Linked DNA regions of Homo sapiens: all the other regions are linked to region 1. Evidence: promoter capture Hi-C in human tissues and cell types (Jung and others, 2019). All regions are on one chromosome and are shown on one strand. The core of a region is centred on a gene start or on the middle of the fragment in contact, and the rest is flanking DNA. Distances in the headings are between cores, read along the strand shown. Region 1 holds the start of OVCA2 (OVCA2 serine hydrolase domain containing). Region 2 overlaps PITPNA (phosphatidylinositol transfer protein alpha). Region 3 holds the start of SERPINF2 (serpin family F member 2).

Region 1 (3,241 bases), core at 1-2,500:
TTTGGGGCTCAGAGGCAATGGCAACATCACATTTGTCCTTGTGAGATGAGTTTGAGCGGTGGCTGACACCTGCCCTGTACCAGGTACTAAATGTGGTTCTGGGGATACTATCACCAGTGAGCTGCCCTGGAAAGCTCATTGTCGGCAGAGGAAACAGGAGAAAACACGCAACAATACAGTATTCCAAACAGCAGTGGGTCACTGTCTTTACTTTAGGATTCATAAAGCCTGTTAATGAATGGGTGTGCTGGGGGCACTGTCATGTTCTTCAGCATGCTGCCTGGGCGACGAGGAGGCCCTTCCTAGGGTCTGACCTGGCTTCCCTTCCCAGGTGGGTGCAGGTGGCATGTCCACGTCTCTCCATTGACTGGGGCACAGCCTTCCCCAAGCCGCTGCTGACACCCTATGAGGTAACACCAAGCTCTGGGAGAGAGTGGGCTTTGGACGTGGTTCTCAAAGGTGAGGTCTGGAGTGGAGTGGGGTGGGTGGGCAGCACTTCGTTATGTTCGTAGATTCCGGAGTCTGTCTCGATTTCTCCAGCGGAGTCACTTCCTAGCTGTGTAGCCTTAGGCAAGGCCCTGAACCACACAGTTCCCTTCTGTGGCAGGGGACAGTGTGCCCTTCACAGGCCGTCGTGAGGACTGAATTCAGTAATCCAGGGGCAGAAAAACACTGGCAGATGTTATTGTCCCTCCCTCCCCTCCCCTAGGCGGCCGTGGCTCTGAGGGACATTTCCTGGCAGCAGCCCTACCCGATGGACTTCTACGCTGGCAGCTCCTTGGGGCCCTGGACGGTGAACCACGGCCAGGACCGCCGTCCCCACGCCCCGGGCCGGCCCGCGCGGGGGAAGGTAGGCGGGGGCTTCCAGGAGGGAGGAGAGACCGCGCCTGGGCACTGGCCGCCGCCCTGCGACCGCGACGGGAAACGCACAGGAGCGGAGCGGAGGGAAACGCAGGGTCGCAGGAGCGAGACCCTAACCAAAGTCTGCGACCTCAGGTGCAGGAGGGGTCCGCGCGTCCCCCTTCGGCCGTGGCTTGCGAGGACTGCAGCTGCAGGGACGAGAAGGTGGCGCCGCTGGCTCCTTGACGCGCTCCCGGGCCTCAGGTATCAGCCCCCGCTCTGGGTGCGCCCCGCCTTTTGCCGTTGTCATGGGAACGCCTTGGCGCTCCGAGGCCCGCCCTCGGGGCGGTGCTGACGTTCGGTTCCGCCCCGTGCATTGTGCTTCCGCTCGGGGAAAGACCGCTTCCGGTGCTTCCGTCGCTCCTTGCCGGGCATAATGGCCGCGCAGCGACCCCTGCGGGTCCTGTGCCTGGCGGGCTTCCGGCAGAGCGAGCGGGGCTTCCGTGAGAAGACCGGGGCGCTGAGGAAGGCGCTGCGGGGTCGCGCCGAGCTCGTGTGCCTCAGCGGCCCGCACCCGGTCCCCGACCCCCCGGGCCCCGAGGGCGCCAGATCAGACTTCGGTGAGACAAGCCCCGCTCCGGAAACGCACTCAGTTTCCTCCATCTTGTTTCGTCCCCCTCGACACCCTTCAGCATCCCCCACCCTGCGTCCACCCGCATTCCTCCCACCCAGTCCACACCCTTCATTTCTCGCGACCCATACCCTCTTTGCTCAAACTGCAGCCTGTCCTCCCAGGCTTCCGCCTTCACCGTCTTCCTCCGCTGTCTCCTGTTCAGGCCAATCCACTCATTTCCCCCCTCTCATTTCCCCCAGACTTTTGCCTCGATTCCCTTTTTCTCTCTGTCATCTCGAACCCTCCTGCCCTTTCTCATTTCTTTCCTTCCTGGAGCCTCCCATGCCCTAATCCCATCCTTTTTCCTCATATCGCTGTAGGGTCCTGCCCTCCGGAGGAGCAGCCTCGAGGCTGGTGGTTTTCAGAGCAGGAGGCCGACGTTTTCTCCGCATTGGAAGAGCCCGCCGTCTGCAGGGGCCTGGAGGAATCACTGGGGATGGTGGCACAGGCACTGAACAGGCTGGGGCCTTTTGACGGCCTTCTTGGTTTCAGCCAAGGGGCTGCGCTAGCAGCCCTTGTGTGTGCCCTGGGCCAGGCAGGCGATCCCCGCTTCCCCTTGCCACGGTTTATCCTCTTGGTGTCTGGTTTCTGTCCCCGGGGCATTGGGTTCAAGGAATCCATCCTGCAAAGGCCCTTGTCATTGCCTTCGCTCCATGTTTTTGGGGACACTGACAAAGTCATCCCCTCTCAGGAGAGTGTGCAACTGGCCAGCCAATTTCCCGGAGCCATCACCCTCACCCACTCTGGTGGCCACTTCATTCCAGCAGCTGCACCCCAGCGTCAGGCCTACCTCAAGTTCTTGGACCAGTTTGCAGAGTGAAAGATCAAGAAATGTCTCTGCTCCTACATCCAGCTCCTCTAGGGGCAGCCTCCGTCATCCATGCCCTCCCAGGACCCTCCACTCACTGCTGTGAGTGCGCCTCACCAGAACCAGTTAAGAGACAACTATCAATTCTTGAGACCCAAATTATAAGGGCCCTGCCCTGTACTGAAGAAAAGGGGAGCACAAGGCCTTAATGGACATTGACTTGTGAAAACGCAAACATGAATATGGTTGGAGAGCCCTGGATTAGGAGGGTGACATGGGGAAGGCAGAGGCTGGCACCATGGTGACTGCCACATAATAAAGTGGTGATTTGGATTTTGAGCATCTTTTTCCTGGTACACACAGAAAAACATTTTATAATGGAAGTCGGTTTCTTGGCCATCTACATAGTTTTCTGGGCAGCGCCAAGCAGGGAGGTGTCTCCAGTTGTGAGTCCTCGGACAGGCTGCTGCATGGGTGCACATACTCACGTTATTGGTGGAAGTTTTAAGTCCCAAACTGAAGGGAAGGAGGCCTAGGTGGCACAATCAGGGAGGAATATACATCTGAGAAGTTTTGGGAAGACATCACCTGGCAAGGCTGCCTGAACCACAGTAATTTAGTCTTCCTCTATCCAGATCACTGAGAGTTGTGTGCTGGTCTTCTCTCAAACCCTGGATGTGTTACCTGCTTCTCCCTAAGTGCTCTAACCTCGCTGAACTATGAGCCTGAAGGGTGGGTCGATGCCAGACCTTAGGTGGAGGCCAAAGACAGTACAGAATAAACAGCTTCTTCCTAAATTGACCCCATCTTGAGGGTTTCTGAGATTGATGCCATTCTTTAGTGACTACAGCCAAGGCCTAAGCAATCCAGCTGGTTTTCCCCTTGGGGCGTGTAGTTGTTCTTGGATACTTTGAGGATTG
Region 2 (3,241 bases), core at 646-3,145, 490 kb before region 1:
AAAGGGTTTCCTCGAGCTCTATGCCCAACTCCTGGCACCCCCGGGGGGAAGACAAGGGTGTTTCTCTATTTTTTTTTTTTTTTTTTTTTTTTTTTAGACAGAGATCGCACAGTGGTGCGATCTCAGGTCACTGCAACCTCCGCCTCCTGGGTTCAAGTGATTCTCCTGCCTCCTGCCTCCTGCCTCAGCCTCCGAAGTAGCTGGGATTACAGGGACTGGGTTTTTCTCTCTTTGAGATTAAAACAGAAAGGATGTATCTCTAGGCAACTGCTACTTAAATCACTGCCTCCAACAGCAAGGACAGAGGCAGCTTCCAGAGCTGCTTCGCCTCAAACTTAGAAACCTGCTCTACCAGGCAGCTTCCTAAGCACTGCAGGGAAATTTCTGGGCAAAATCTGGAAAGTGAAGCAGAGGACGAGGACAATTCACTGCTCACCACAAGGCTGAAAGAGCCCTAACTTTCAAAGCAAAATCCCAGAACAAAATGCCATGAAAAGGGGCAGCAATCGAGGCTCAGTGAAATCCATACAGAGGAACATATGGGTGAAAGCCAGTCACCTTGACCTTGCTAATCCTAAGCTGCATCAGTGCTGCCTCAATGCCCCCCTGGAGCCCCAAGCTGTCCCTGTGCCTCTCCAAGTCCACCACCCAGCTAGGCACACATGAAAACCCGTCAGGTGGGTCAGGGCTTGGCTGAGCCAGGGGTGCCTAAGAAGGAGCAGTAACTCCGTTTCAGAGAAGAGCCGTAAGAACATCTAACCACTGACTCAGCAATCCTAAAGGACAGGCTGGGGAGAGGGCCTGGTGGAGGGGGCGAGGTTCCCAGCTAGTGGTACCACTTGGGAAGGGGGACCCCAGGCAGAGACTAATCGCCTTCATTTGGTTTCTCTTCAGCTGCAGGAATCAGAGGGCAGGTTCTAAGAGGATCAGCCTGTTGGCTGGCATCTTCCCCCTTCAATCTCTCTTGATATTCTGATCCTTTAATCCCAATGAGACAAGTGAAGGCAGTTTTGTTAATCTAAAGGGGTAAGCAAGACTGGCCTGCACAAGCTACAAGTGAAGGGCGCTTTTCACGTTAGAGTTCCTTTTGGCACAGCTGCTCTGCCCCCTGGGAAAGCAGCCAGACTCGGATGGGGCAGAGATAGGAGTGGGAGGGTCAGATCATTAAATCAGATTTAAAAAACTCCAACAGGACTGGGAATCTAGCCTCCTCAGACCTGCGATGATGTTCCTTGCTCTTGAGATCTGTTCACCTATCCCAGAGAACTAAGACATTCAACTAAGAAAAACAGACTCCACAACTTTGGCAATCTGGGAGGGGGAGCCCAGTGGGTGGGCCTGAAATACTGACATGAAACACGTCATAAACAACAGTACAGCTTTGGTCCCACCAACATGGCCCTGTCAGGCTGGGTACCAGAGGGGGACTGGTGCCGTGAATCTCTGGAAACAAGAAGTGAAGCAGCCCGGCCGACCTGTGCCAGGAAGCACTGGTGGACACACCCCGTCAAACAGCCAGGGCTTTCTCGCTCTGCTGCACAACGCCCAGACACTCAGGGTTAGACCAAAGGCTCTGGCCACCCAGAAGCTAATTCTGCCCCCAAAATATTGATGCAGGCCATCGGAATGATTACAAAGGCATGACCTTCTCTTTCCCTTTCTTCACTTTCCCCTAAATCAGAAAACTGCAAAGGCCTCAAGTCATGGCCTCCAATTTAGGAAGTGAATCCACCAGTCACAAGATGCTGAGCTGTTCCCATAGAAACTGTTAAGTCAGGATGGGGATGGGGTTACTGACAAAGACTCTGAGAAGGTTGATCATGAATTGTTTCTTCTTCGGCCTTCCCCTCCAAGATTTTTCTAATTCTCTGAAACTAAGTTCCGCTTCGACCCTACCCAGGCCACGTGGTACTTTCTTGTCAATGGTTTCTTGCTGAGAACGGGCTGACCACTGCCAGGCAGACAGGTGAATCCTGATCAGCACTCACTTCCCAAGCTTCTGCTTAGACTTCAGGCTCTGATTACTCAACTCCGCCCCACCACTTCCTCAATGCTGCAGAAAAACCATCACAAGTGAACACCCGCCAACTGTGGATGCTCTCAAGGTGGAAGTTCCCCTTTCCTTCCAGTCTTGGCCCCACCATAAGCCATCAGTGTCTGGCCCTTCAGCCTTACTCCAAGAACAGCCCCAGGTGCTCCAGGACAGGCTGGCCCTCCTTGGTCTGCAGCACTTCTCAGAGACACTCTCGCCCTTCGTTCCATCAAGAAACTCCCTATCAAAGGATCCATTTCACCCCTAATCACCACACTAAGGAAATCCCGAGTTCCTGGGGCACATCTTCCTAACGATCGGGGTGGGATCATCCTGTACAGCAGAGAGGACGTCACTGGACACCTCCCCAAGAGCTGAGTTTGAGGGCAAGGGACGCGCTGGGCTTTCCTGCTTGGCCTTCTGGTTTGGAAAATCATCGCTTGCTATTTTCAATAAAGACAGCACAGGCTGGGTGAAGTGGTTGACATCTGTAATCCCAGCACTCTGGGAGGCTGAGGCAGGAGGACTACTTGAGGCAAGACCAGCGTGGACAACAGAGTGAGACCCTATCTCCACTATTTAAAATAAATATTATAAAATAAAAAAAATAAAGACAGCATGGCCAAAGCAGGTGGGTTAACAAGACCCTTCCAAGCCAACACCTGTCAGCCCAGGCACCTGGTTCTCAGGCCCCAGGTACATCCCCAGTGCCTACAGGGATTAGAGCCATCTACCCAGCCATTCCCTCATTCTCCCTGGTTCCCAGGTTCCCCAGTCTCGTTTCTCTTTTCTGCCCTTCCCAGAACCCCAAGATCACGGTCAAGGCCCACCTCTGGCCCCCTCCCCAGGTCCCCACAGCTCTTATCAGATATGTAGCCCACCCCTGGAGGCAGTCCTCTAAAGGGCCAGTGTCTGCCCACCCCTCTCGGGGGCCAACAAGCCTGGATGTCTGTCTCAACTAAATGTGCTGCAGGCTCTGCTGGCCTGATTTCATTTTTCAAAGGTGCAGTTCATATTGGGAACAGAGTGGAAGTTATCACAGGAGCTTCATGCTGACACTGCAGGAAAGAGAGACGGAGCCCAGTGACTGGAGGCACTATACTGGCTGACGAACCTCACCCAAACTCGAGTTTAACTGGAAGCTGGGGCGGGGTGGGGCTGTGATTTCAGAAGGAAGCAAAGAACAAGGCTGCGCCAGGAGAGGAGAGT
Region 3 (3,241 bases), core at 358-2,857, 300 kb before region 1:
TGAGGAGCCGGACAGTGAGGGTGGGAAGGAGCCTGATGCAGGGAGTGAGGCGCAGGACAGTGAAGGTGGGAAGGGGCCTGATGCAGGGAGTGAGGCGCAAGACAGTGAGGGTGGGAAGGAGCCTGATGCAGGGAGTGAGGCGCAGGACAGTGAGGGTGGGAAGGAGCCTGATGCAGGGAGTGAGGAGCAGGACAGTGAAGGTGGGAAGGAGCCTGATGCAGGGAGTGAGGAGCCGGACAGTGAGGGTGGGAAGGAGCCTGATGCAGGGAGTGAGGAGCTGGACAGTGAGGATGGGAAGGAGCCTGATGCAGGGAGTGAGGAGCAGGACAGTGAGGGTGGGAAGTGGCCTGATGCAGGGAGTGAGGCGCAGGACAGTGAGGGTGGGAAGGAGCCTGATGCAGGGAGTGAGGAGCAGGACAGTGAGGGTGGGAGGCGGCCTGATGCAGGGAGTGAGGAGCCGGACAGTGAGGGTGGGAGGCGGCCTGATGCAGGGAGTGAGGAGCAGGACAGTGAGGGTGGGAAGTGGCCCGATGCAGGGAGTGAGGCGCAGGACAGTGAGGGTGGGAAGGAGCCTGATGCAGGGAGTGAGGAGCCGGACAGTGAGGGTGGGAAGGAGCCTGATGCAGGGAGTGAGGAGCCGGACAGTGAGGGTGGGAAGGAGCCTGATGCAGGGAGTGAGGAGCAGGTGTGAGGGCGGGAAGCGGCCTGATGCAGGGAGTGAGGAGCAGGACAGTGAGGGTGGGAAGGGGCCTGATACAGGGAGTGAGGAGCAGGACAGTGAGGGTGGGAAGGAGCCTGATGCAGGGAGTGAGGAGCCGGACAGTGAGGGTGGGAAGCAGCCTGATCTTTGCACGGGCTGCCAGGCTTCTGGTTCATACAGCCCCAGGTCAGTTTCCAGAACCCTCGCTCTTGGGTAGGGGAAAGAGACATTGCTCTGGAGTGGCAGGACGGTGGGAGAAGTTGAGTCCCTCTCATTTCTCCTCCCTCACCCCCTGCCTTCCATCCCAGTCTGAAGGCAGCCAACCTGATCCTGGGCTTGGAAGGTTGGGGGTGGGCTTCCTATCCTGGGCTCTCTGCATAGGCTCTTGTGGCTTCCCCTTTCCTCCCCTCAGGAGCGGGAGGCAGCTCTCTGGGAGAAGAAAGGACATTGGGAGTGAGAATCTGGATGTGCCTCAGCCCAGCTCTGTGTCCTTGGGCAGGTCACATGGCCTCTCTGAGCCTGGCTGAACCAGGGATAATCCACACCTCGTGGGGTCTCTGGAAGGCTTAACACAGTGCTAGGTTCCTGTGCTTTCTGGATCCGCCCTCTTGGCTAGCCAGATCCAGTCTCTTCAACTCTCTCCTCCTGAACTTTCTCTTTCCAGGCTCGGGGGGGGGGACCCAAATATAGGGGGTTCTGCGTGGCTGCCTCAGGGTTAGATGCCCTGGTGGGAAAGGGGCTTCTGGCTTCAAGATCAATGTTTAACTGGATGTGCAAGTCAATATTTACCAGAAGAGAAAGCAATCTGAACAGGGGTTGGCTGAGAGTAAAGGTCCTGGTGGGAGGGGAGGGGTGGGCTGGGCCAGCTGGAGCCTGGGCAGAGAGTGAGGAGCACCCAAGTGGGGCCAGAGGAACGTTGTGTGTGGCAGCAAGGAGCCCGCAGAGGTATGAGGGGAGGGGCTGCTCGGCCTGCTCCTTGGGTAGGAGAGGAGGAGGGAGCTGCCTCCCTGGCTGAGGGGTCTGGGATTTATTCAGGAGGCCTGTCACTCCCCAGCCTCTTCTGGGACTTGAAAAACTGGAGCCTGTTCTTGGCAAGAAGATTCTAATGCCCAGGTCGGAGTCGGGGCCCTGGCCAAGGGCTCTTGTGTGGGATGGGGGTGGGGCCGGGGGGACCAAAGGATCCTCCAGAAGGGTTGGCCCCAAGATGGGGGTGGGCTGGAGGTAGCTGAGACCTGCTCTGACTTATCCTCCTGAGACCAACACCTGCCCTTCCCAGAGCCAGCCTGGAGCAGAGGCCTGTGATGCTCCTAAGTGCAGAGGTGGCTCTGGCCAGAGTCATTCACTGGGCTCTGCTGCTGGGTCAAAAGGCAGCTCTCTGGCTGCCTTGCCACCCATGGTGAGACCTCAGGGCCTCACAGGTATGTCCAGCCTTGTGGGCAAGACCTGACCAGCCTGAGAAAGACGGGTTGGGGCCAGGCGTGGTGGCTCATGCCTGTCATCCCAGCACTTTGGGAGGCTGAGGCAGGTGGATCACCTGAGGTCAGGAGTTCGAGACCAGCCTGACCAACATGGAGAAACCCTGTCTCTACTAAAAATACAAAATTAGCCAGGCATGGTGGCACATGCCTGTAATCCCAGCTACTCGGGAGGCTGAGGCAGGAGAATCGCTTTAACCCAGGAGGTGGAGGTTGCAGTGAGCCGAGATCGTGCCATTGCACTCCAGCCTGCATGATAAGAATGAAACTCCATCTCAAAAAAAAAAAAAAAAAAAAAAAAGACAGGCTAAATGGATGCAGCAGGCTGGGTAGGAGCTCTGTGTTGGAGCTCTGCGGTGGAGGCTTCAGGGCAGGCTTCCCAGAAGAGGTGGCCTTGAGCCAAGCTGACCCCAGCCATCGGGGGAGTGCCAAGCATTGTACTCAGGGTTTACAAAGATGGTCTTATTTATTTTTTTGAGACAGAGTCTTGCTCTGTCGCCCAGGCTGGAGTGCAGTGGCGTGATCTCGGCTCACTGCAACCTCCGCCTCCCGGGTTCAAGCAGTTCTCTGCCTCAGCCTCCCGAGTAGCTGGGATTACAGGGGCCCACCACCACGCCTGGCTAATTTTGTATTTTCAGTAGAGATGGGGTTTTACCATGTTGGCCAGGCTGGTCTTGAACTCCCGACCTCAGGTGATCCACCTGCCCCTGGCCTCCCAAAGTGCTGGGATTACAGGCTTGAGCCACCGTGCCTGGCCACAAAGATGGTCTTTTGCCGGGTGCAGTGGCTCATGCCTGTAATCCCAGTACTTTGGGAGGCCGAGGCAGGAGGATCACCTGAGGTCGGGAGTTTAAGACCAGCCTGACTAACACAGAGAAACCCCGTTTCTACTAAGAAATACAGAATTAGCCAGGCGTGGTGGTGCATGCCTGTAATCCCAGCTATTCGGGAGGCTGAAGCAGGAGAATCGCTTGAACCTGGGAGGTGGAGGTTGCGGTGAGCCGAGATCCTGCCACTGCACTCCAGCCTGGTCAACGAGAGCGAAACTCCGTCTCAAAAAATAAAC

What was found. Contacts are between HindIII fragments. The study calls those that stand out against the background at their distance.
Region 2: a fragment that was not itself captured here is called in contact with the fragment with the promoter of OVCA2 in region 1 in 6 of the 25 tissues and cell types used here (aorta, dorsolateral prefrontal cortex, hippocampus and 3 more).
Region 3: a contact is called between the fragment with the promoter of SERPINF2 here and the fragment with the promoter of OVCA2 in region 1, in 1 of the 25 tissues and cell types used here (dorsolateral prefrontal cortex).

The regions. Positions count from the first base shown.
Region 1 is chr17:2,040,772-2,044,012 of GRCh38, forward strand. OVCA2 (OVCA2 serine hydrolase domain containing) reads left to right here and starts at 1,251. Exons shown (of 2, transcript NM_080822.3): 1 at 1,251-1,460; 2 at 1,834-2,654. The coding sequence starts at 1,277. The coding sequence ends at 2,333. It overlaps DPH1 (diphthamide biosynthesis 1), which reads left to right. Exons shown (of 13, transcript NM_001383.6): 10 at 332-410; 11 at 710-850; 12 at 997-1,104; 13 at 1,834-3,127. The coding sequence ends at 1,086. RefSeq lists silencers at 754-843, 1,354-1,553 and an enhancer at 1,104-1,163. The HindIII fragment of the contact is 24,727 bases long and covers 1-3,241 here.
Region 2 is chr17:1,554,323-1,557,563 of GRCh38, forward strand. All of the region lies in intron 2 of PITPNA (phosphatidylinositol transfer protein alpha), which reads right to left. Among named protein-coding and RNA genes, the nearest start is that of PITPNA, 6.8 kb to the right of the region's middle. RefSeq lists an enhancer at 1,494-1,563 and a silencer at 1,980-2,180. The HindIII fragment of the contact is 8,751 bases long and covers 1-3,241 here.
Region 3 is chr17:1,741,264-1,744,504 of GRCh38, forward strand. It overlaps SERPINF2 (serpin family F member 2), which reads left to right and starts at 1,608. Exons shown (of 10, transcript NM_000934.4): 1 at 1,608-1,645. The HindIII fragment of the contact is 23,738 bases long and covers 1-3,241 here.